Linked DNA regions of Homo sapiens: region 2 is linked to region 1. The links are contacts of gene promoters, found by promoter capture Hi-C in human tissues and cell types (Jung and others, 2019). All regions are on one chromosome and are shown on one strand. The core of a region is centred on a gene start or on the middle of the fragment in contact, and the rest is flanking DNA. Distances in the headings are between cores, read along the strand shown. Region 1 holds the start of SAMD5 (sterile alpha motif domain containing 5). Region 2 has its middle 110 kb from the start of SASH1.

Region 1 (3,773 bases), core at 816-3,315:
ACCAATTAACATGGTCAAGCAGGTGATCTGAATTGCCTATGGTACGTGCAAGGTAGTAGATAATATTAAACCCCTTATTCCCATCTACCTTAGGTATTGTTATCTACTCTTAACAAAGCTTTCCCTTTAACTTCCTTAACTCCAGGCATTACAGCCTTTACTTAAGATTCTACAGCAATACTACCAGGGCCCAAGATACCCACACAACACTGAGATTATCCACATTTCCTATTAGGGAGTTGGGTTTCTGTGGCCCACCAGCTGAGTATGTTTGCCATCATTTTCTCCCTGGGCTCTTCTAAGTCTTGATTTTTAAGCTGAGGTGCTCATATTCCTGTGCACCTTCTGCAATCCTGAGCGTTACCTGTGCTGTCTACTTCTCTATCAAGTCAGGACCCTCTACTCCGACAGCCGCCTGAACTAGAAACCTAAACGGAACAGACTCGCAGCTAGAAGCAGAGCTCTGGTGTGAAGTACCATTTTCTGTTAATTACCCAGCTCCCACTCCACATTTCGGAACTTCCAGGTTCCTTCCCTGAGGCCCCCGGTGCAGAGGATTCCCCTTTAGTTCACTTGTGCTCGGTCCTCCTCTCCCAAATGCAGGTCCACTCACACTTCCTGGAAGTCACAGTTGTACCTACTTCATCTTATCTGGCTTAATAATAAACCAAACTCGTGACAGCCCAGACCTCTGAAGCACATCCTGTGGCCCGATTATCTCTGATGTCCTTAGCACCTTATTGCCTCCAGTATACACAAGTTTAGGAAATCATCTCAAGTGGACTGACACGTGCTTCCTTCACTTTTCCTCTTAAAATGCTCATGTGAATGGTAAGCTTCTCAAATTTGCAGCAGCGCTGGGATTTTTTATGGAATTGAGAAAGGCAGGGCCTGACTTTCCACTCTTTAAAGAGTTCACCGATTTCCCTTAGGAGTTTCTCAAGACTCAAAAAAGGAAAAGAAAGAGAAAAAGGAAGGTAGAAAGCAATGTAGGTATTAACCATTTTTTCTGGTACTCTTCAAACCCAAAACTACTATAGAGGGCGTTAGGAATTCCCCCTGGCTACCAGGTGAAGCAGCGCGAGTCCGATTCCTGACAGGCGAGCACCAGAGAGGATGCGGAGTTTTGGTCGTTAGTTTAGAGATAACATCTGGATGCGGGGGCTTGTCTTACCAACCACTGGAGACACCAGGAAGGACGAAATAATGGGCTAATACAGAAAGAACATAGAAAAGGGTCCCAGATACCCAAAGCCTCCTGGCCTCTCCGTCGTCACCTGGAATGGGTTGCAAAGCCTTGGCACAGGCAGCTGGGCTGTGTCCCCTCCCGCCGCGCGCCCCGGGCCGCCCGGACGGCACCTCCTTACCTTGCGGGAGTACGGGGGCTTGCTCAGGTGGATGCCGTCACGGACGAGCTTATCCCTGATCATGATCTTCAGCTTCAGTTTGGGGTAGCTCACCAGCTCCCTGCTGCGGGGGGCGGTCGTGTGGCCGCGAGAGTCCCCGCGGGTGCCCTGGGCCGGGCCGCCGCACGGCTCCCCCCGGCGGCCGGTGGGGACGGCGTCGGCGGGCGGCCCGGGGGGCGCCGGCTGCGGCTCAAGCGTGAAGTAGAGGCCGGCGGCGTTGGCGTCCTGCTCCCGCAGCCGGCGCACGGCCTCCAGGATACGGCGGCGGTGCGCGGGCGCCAGCACCCCGATGGCATCCAGGTCCGGGTCCCCGATCTGCTTGCACACCTCCAGGTCATCGTAGCCGTTATCCACGAAGGACTCCGCGTACTGCGGAAGCTGCAGCGCTTTGAGCCACTCGTAAACTATGTTGGTGCACATGGTGGGACCGGGAACCCCGCCGCCGAGCACCTTCCCAGCGCCCAAATGGCACGGGCGGCACCAGTTCTTGGAACTTTTAATCCTCTCCTCCAAGGGGAAAAGGGTATCGCAGTAAAGTTTTCCTTTTAAAGGAAAGGCTCGGGCAGGAGACGGAAAACCATCAGAAGAAGCCTGAGGAAGGGAGAAGCGAACAAGCAGCAAAGTGAATTCCCCAAGCAGCAGCGGAGCTCGCAGGCACTGGCTGCTGGGCTGAGCAAGGCTCCGCGCCGCCCCTGGATGCGCCGCCGACGCTGCCGCCGCGGGGAGGGGCGCGCGACTGGCGCGGGAGGGGGCGGAGACGGGAGGGGCCGGGGCACACCCCTCGGACCTGCGCCGGGTCAGCGCTGCGCAGTGCCGCCCGCGAGTTTTCCCAGCCGGGACGGTCCGGCGGCTGCGCGCCGCATCTCGCGCTCTGGCAGCCGCCGCCGCCGCTGGCGCGCTCCGCGCCGCGAGGCGACTTCTCCACGCAGACCCGCGGCCGCTGGGAGCGCCTAGTCTTCGCGAGTGTCAGTCACTGTAGTCCTCCCGGCGGGAAGCCGGTGGCTTCTACGCTGCTGGGCTCCGTTGGCTGCCCTGGGTTGCTTTTCACATTTCTGTTTAATCTGACTCTTCTACCCGTGGAAGTCTGTGCTCACTTCTTCCCGACCCTGCCGGACTCCAGCTTCCGCGCCCGCTGGCAGCCCAAGGACACGTCCCGCCGCCCCACGGCGCTGGGGACGCTGCGGGGTTCAGTGTCCCTTCCTTCCGGATCCGCGTTTGAATCCCCCTTCCTCGGATCCCGTACGCAGCCCAGAGCCCGGCGATCTGACTTCTTCCGTGGGCGGCCACTCAGTGACCCGAGCGGCGGCGTTTTGGCCCGGAGGGTGGGCGCAACGTGGGGACCGCCCGGGTCCAGCCGGCTTGCGCGCCGCCCCTCCTCGCTGCAGCTGGGCACGTTGGGCGGCAGGAGAGGCTGCTGTCTTCCTGGCTCTCCCTTCCTAAGCTCCCGGGTCTGCGAAAGTTTGGGGTGGGTTGTACTTTCTCCTAGGTCAGTGTGTCCCACCCGGTACCCCACCCTCCTTTCTGCCCGGCCCCTCCCCCTCGTCGGCGCTATGCTTTCTCTCCGGGCCCCCCACCTAGTATACTGCACGGGCTCCCGGGGTGGCTTTGCCCCCGGGGACACTGCCAGGCGTTCGGTCCTGGAGCCCGGGAATCCGAGCCTATCCTCTCGCTCCCGCCCGGGGATCGCGTGAAAATCAATAGAGCACCACCCAGCTCGTGTTGGAAGGGACGCTCAGACATCTCCGCCCACGGCATTTTCCCTCTAGGAGGTAACAAAATCAATCGAGTTTCCCCATCATGCCAATGTCTGAGCAGCCTCTTGGGACTGGGGACTCGAGTGGCAGGTGGAACAGACCAAGCGCCTGGGCCCCATTTCCCGGTGTCTGACCTCTTCTTGGGACTAAGGGAAGTGAGGGACGGCGGGGGCAGGTACTGTCTCCTCTCTTTCCGCAGAAGGGCGATTCAGCTTCGCACCTGAGCTGTTTAAGGACCAGATCTGACCTTTTTTTCTGAAGATTGCCCGTGGGGCGTGCCAGTCTCTCGCCCGACCTTGGGAAGTGGACAAGGAGTGATTTCAGAGTCGTTTCTCGACCTGCTGTGTGTTTGGCATTTGGGTGGGTGGTTAGGTGGGCCCTCTTATCCTAAACCAAGAGAGCTTAACCCCCTCTTGGGACACGAACCCCTTAAAGAATCAGATGACAGCTTCTGTCCTTTTGCCCAGGAAAATACCCGACATAGGCGCACCCAAAACGTTCCCTACAGTCGCAGGGGGGTTCTGGTTTCCCAAACCCCGGGACTCACGAATCTCAAATTAAGGACAGCTGGCAGAAAGGACTGTCTGCTTAGGGGGAGGGGAGAGACCAACGC
Region 2 (3,982 bases), core at 375-2,874, 730 kb before region 1:
AGCCGAGATCGTGCCATTGCACTCCAGCCTGGGTGGCAGAGCAAGAGTCCATCTCAAAAAAAAAAAAAATTTAATTTAATAAACTGTGTGATTTAAGCAGCCCAATTTAGTCTGTGTTCCTTCCTGTTCCCTGACCTCTGGAATAGCTTGGGATAGTTTCCTGCATGCCACCATTTCCTACCCACACCCCTCCTTGCCATGCAAATGCAAACCCCAAGGTGCTATGAAGTCTCCAAGAGTCCTTGTATTAGACCATTATTTTCTGAATCCTAATATTCATAATGAATGAACAGGGTCCTTCAGAGTCCTTGAACACAAAGAAGGAATTTTAAAATATAAGAAGAAAACTAGCCTACAGTGTCTCTGCATGTATGTTTTACATTTTCCTTAATAGTGAGAGACACGATAAGGTTTGATTGACTTTGTCCACCAGTAAACTTAAAATAGAGGTTCTAGAAATAACGTGTAACTAGCCAAGGGGAAAATTTAAGGCCATTGTGGAAGAGTAGGAGTTCTTGTGAGAGTCAAGGTCTTAACTCGCAAGACTTCTCCAACTCTTTGCATCTACAATTATTTACTGAATAGCATTGCTACAAACATGTTTGTACTGGTCCCTGTGAGTAAGTGGGCTGAAATACAAGGAGCTGTAGGTTTGACTCATCAAAATATATGTGTAAGAGCCAACCATAGGGCTCCTGGACATGTTATTATATCCTGGAAACTGCTGAGTTCATGTATAATTTAGACATGTAAAACCACGCACAAATACATATTTTAAAAATTATACAGTTTCTAATCAATTTAACATATACTGTGGAAAATAATCATGCTGAAAAAATAATAGTGTTAGCTATGCCTCCATGATTGAGTAGGTTAAAAAGGACAATAAGGAGTGATAGTAACAGAAAATATCTTTTTGATTAGAGATATTTTATTTTTCTGATTTTGTCTTTTCTTTCAGTGAGTTAAATACATTTGAGGAGATTAACGCCAAATGATTAAGATGACATGATAAGATAAGGTCAGCAATCAGGGGCTGTTAATCTACCTACAACCCCCATCCACCTCCACCATACACATACACCAATTGTCTTTTAACACTTACGTTCTTTGCAGAATTGGGTTTGGTTATGTGATTACCATTGACACGTTATGACGCAAGTGCTCCTGGGGTGTAGACCATTGTTTTTATTAAACTTCTGAGCCAAAATCATAGAATGGCGGTATTGAGCAAGGAGGAGGGAGAATCCATGTATTGTTGGTGCTTGTTATCAGATTATCCCAAAATGGATACTATTCTACTTCACCTGGGACCGAAGACAGCCCACAGACCCATTACGGGTACATTTTAGATAATATTTCTGATGTTAGAGAATAAGCATTTTCAGACCCCACCAGGTTCTCCAGCTTCTTGGCCTGAGCTTTCAGTTCCTCCTCCTCCTTCTTTTTTTTTTTTTTCTGAAACGGAGTTTCGCTCTTCTTGCCCAGGCTGGAGTGCAATGGCGCAGTCTCGGCTCATTGCAACCTCCGCCTCCCGGGTTCAAGCGATTCTCCTGTCTCAGCCTCCTGAGTAGCTGGGATTACAGGTGTCTGCCACCACGCCTGGTTAATTTTTGGTATTTTTAATAGAGATGGGGTTTCCTCATGTTGGCCAGACTGGTCTCGAACTCCTGACCTCAGGTTATCTACCTGCCTTGGCCTCCCAAAGTGCTGGCATTACAGGTGTGAGCCACCACGCCCGGCCAGTTCCTCCTTCTTCTTATCCTCACCTCCCCACCCCAAGTTAACTCAGACTAGCCCAGATATGCCCTGAGCAAAGGAAGGGATCCTGCCAAGCCCTAGATGCTTTGCAGAAACCTCAGTGATAGAAGCCAAATACGGATATTCAGTATAAACACACACATGCACACACACACAATGACATTCAAACTTAACACTTGAATCAACTAAAAAAAAAAAGCTTTGCTAAGTTTGCTAGCTTTTTAAAGAGATGGTTTAAAGGGACTGCAACTCAGAATGTACTTTTCAATAGAAATAGTAATTCTAAGGCAAGCTTAGGATACTGCAATTAGCCTAAGTGGTAGGCTGGGCATGGTGAAGCCAGTGCCTGTGGTCCCAGCTACACTGGAGGCTGAGGTGAGAGGATTCCTTGAGCCCAGGAGTTTAAAGCTGCAGTGATCTATGAGGGCACCACTGCACTCCAGCCTGGGCTACAGAGTGAGACCCTGTCTCAAATTGTATCCCTATCCCCACCCAAAAAAAACCTAAGTGGTACTCATTTCACAGCAAATGCTCACTTCCTCTCTTTTTCTAGTATTTTTTTCTTTTTCTCTGTGGATCACATAAAGGGAGGAACATTTAGTTTTTTTTTTTTGGAAACAGAGTCTCACTCTGTCACCCAGTCTGGAGTGCGGTGGTGCCATCATCGCTTACTGCAGCCTCAAACTCCTGGGCTCAAGAGATCCTCTCATCTCAGCCTCCCATGTAGCTAAGAATGCAGGTGTGTGCCACCATGTCCAGCTAATTTTTTTTTTTTTTTTTTTTTGTAGAGAGGAAGCTGCCATCATAGCTCCCTGTGTTGCCTAAGCTGGTCTCAAACTCATGACCTCAAGCAATCCTCCCTCTTTGGCCTCCCAAAGTGCTGCGATTACAGGCGTGAGCCCCTATGCCTGGCTGATTTAGATAGTTTTAATTAACATGTAATTCATTGCTTAATGTCTTTAATTATCTCTTCTCTGTAAGCACCATGAAAGCAGGAGTTGATTCTTGTTCCTACCTGTATCACCAATGATTGGCACATAGTACATACACAATATACATTTTTCAACGATATGAACGTATGAAAGAATAAAAAGAGAGAAAGAAGAAAGGAAAAAAGGTGGACACTGGGTGGGTGAAGGTTCTGGTCTGCTTGAAAGCTTCCCCCTCTTTCTCTGGCAGATGAGAGGGCAAAGCCCTACAGCATGGTGCTTTGCAGTACTGAAAGGAGCATGAACTTCGGTGTCAGACAGACTGGGTCTCAATCTTCGCTCTACCCTTGGCTGTGCTTCACTATTTTTTTTTTTTTTTTTTTAAGATGGAGTTTCTCTCTTGTTGCCCAGGCTGGAGTGCAATGGCGCGATCTCGGCTCACTGCAACCTCCGCCTCCTGGGTTCAAGCAATTCTCCTGCCTCAGCCTCCCGAGTATCTGGGACTACAGGCATGTACCACCACGCCGGCTAATTGTGTATTTTTAGTAGAGACGGGGTTTCTCCATGTTGGCCAGGCTGGTCTTGAACTCTCGATCTCAGGTGATCCGCCCACCTTGGCCTCCTTCACTATTTAACCTCTCTGAATTTCAGTTTCCTCATCTATATACTGGAGAGAATACCAACTGCATACAATCTTTGTTACATATACCAGATAATGTACTATATATAAAAGCTCTCTGCCAGGTGCCAGGCTCAGAGTTCTGAATAAAGAAACACTAAAAGCTAGTTTCTCGTGGGCACTGACTTTAGGAAATCTTTGAGGTACACATTGCAAGTTTTAGGTGATGCACAGTGGGGTTGTAGGATGAAAAGCTAAGTGCCAAGTCCTCTGATTTTCCTTCCTCACAATCTTTGGCTTAGAGATTTAATACTTTGTCTTCAGCCACCTCTTGAGGGCCAATCCCATCTACTCATCTAAGGCTCTGTCCCACATCTTAATTGTCTTCTGCATAGTTGCATGTTTTACTGTCAGCTCAAATTTAACATACCCGACAACACCGAGTATCAGTTTCTTCCCCAAAGAGTGTCTCCTTTCAGATTATCTTTCTGTTAATCTTACTTCTGTTCCCTAGAACTTCAGGTTCAGAGCCTCAGAATCAGTTATCCTTGACTCACCTAGAAGAAGGATCAAACCATGTCTTCTTGAGCCAGTAGGCCCGAGCCCAAGTCTGAATATCGACAGTTGCCTGTTGAATGGATGAGCTTGTTTTTCACATCCACCAAAACCTGTT

Evidence for each region. The method cuts DNA at HindIII sites, captures the fragments that hold promoters and counts their contacts. A contact is called where the count stands out against the background at its distance.
Region 2: a fragment that was not itself captured here is called in contact with the fragment with the promoter of SAMD5 in region 1 in 1 of the 25 tissues and cell types used here (aorta).

The regions. Positions count from the first base shown.
Region 1 is chr6:147,506,982-147,510,754 of GRCh38, reverse strand. SAMD5 (sterile alpha motif domain containing 5) reads right to left here and starts at 2,065. Exons shown (of 2, transcript NM_001030060.3): 1 at 1,368-2,065. The coding sequence starts at 1,826. The HindIII fragment of the contact is 17,257 bases long and covers 478-3,773 here.
Region 2 is chr6:148,232,306-148,236,287 of GRCh38, reverse strand. It overlaps a transcript of SASH1 not described here. Among named protein-coding and RNA genes, the nearest start is that of SASH1, 110 kb to the left of the region's middle. The HindIII fragment of the contact is 5,038 bases long and covers 1-3,982 here.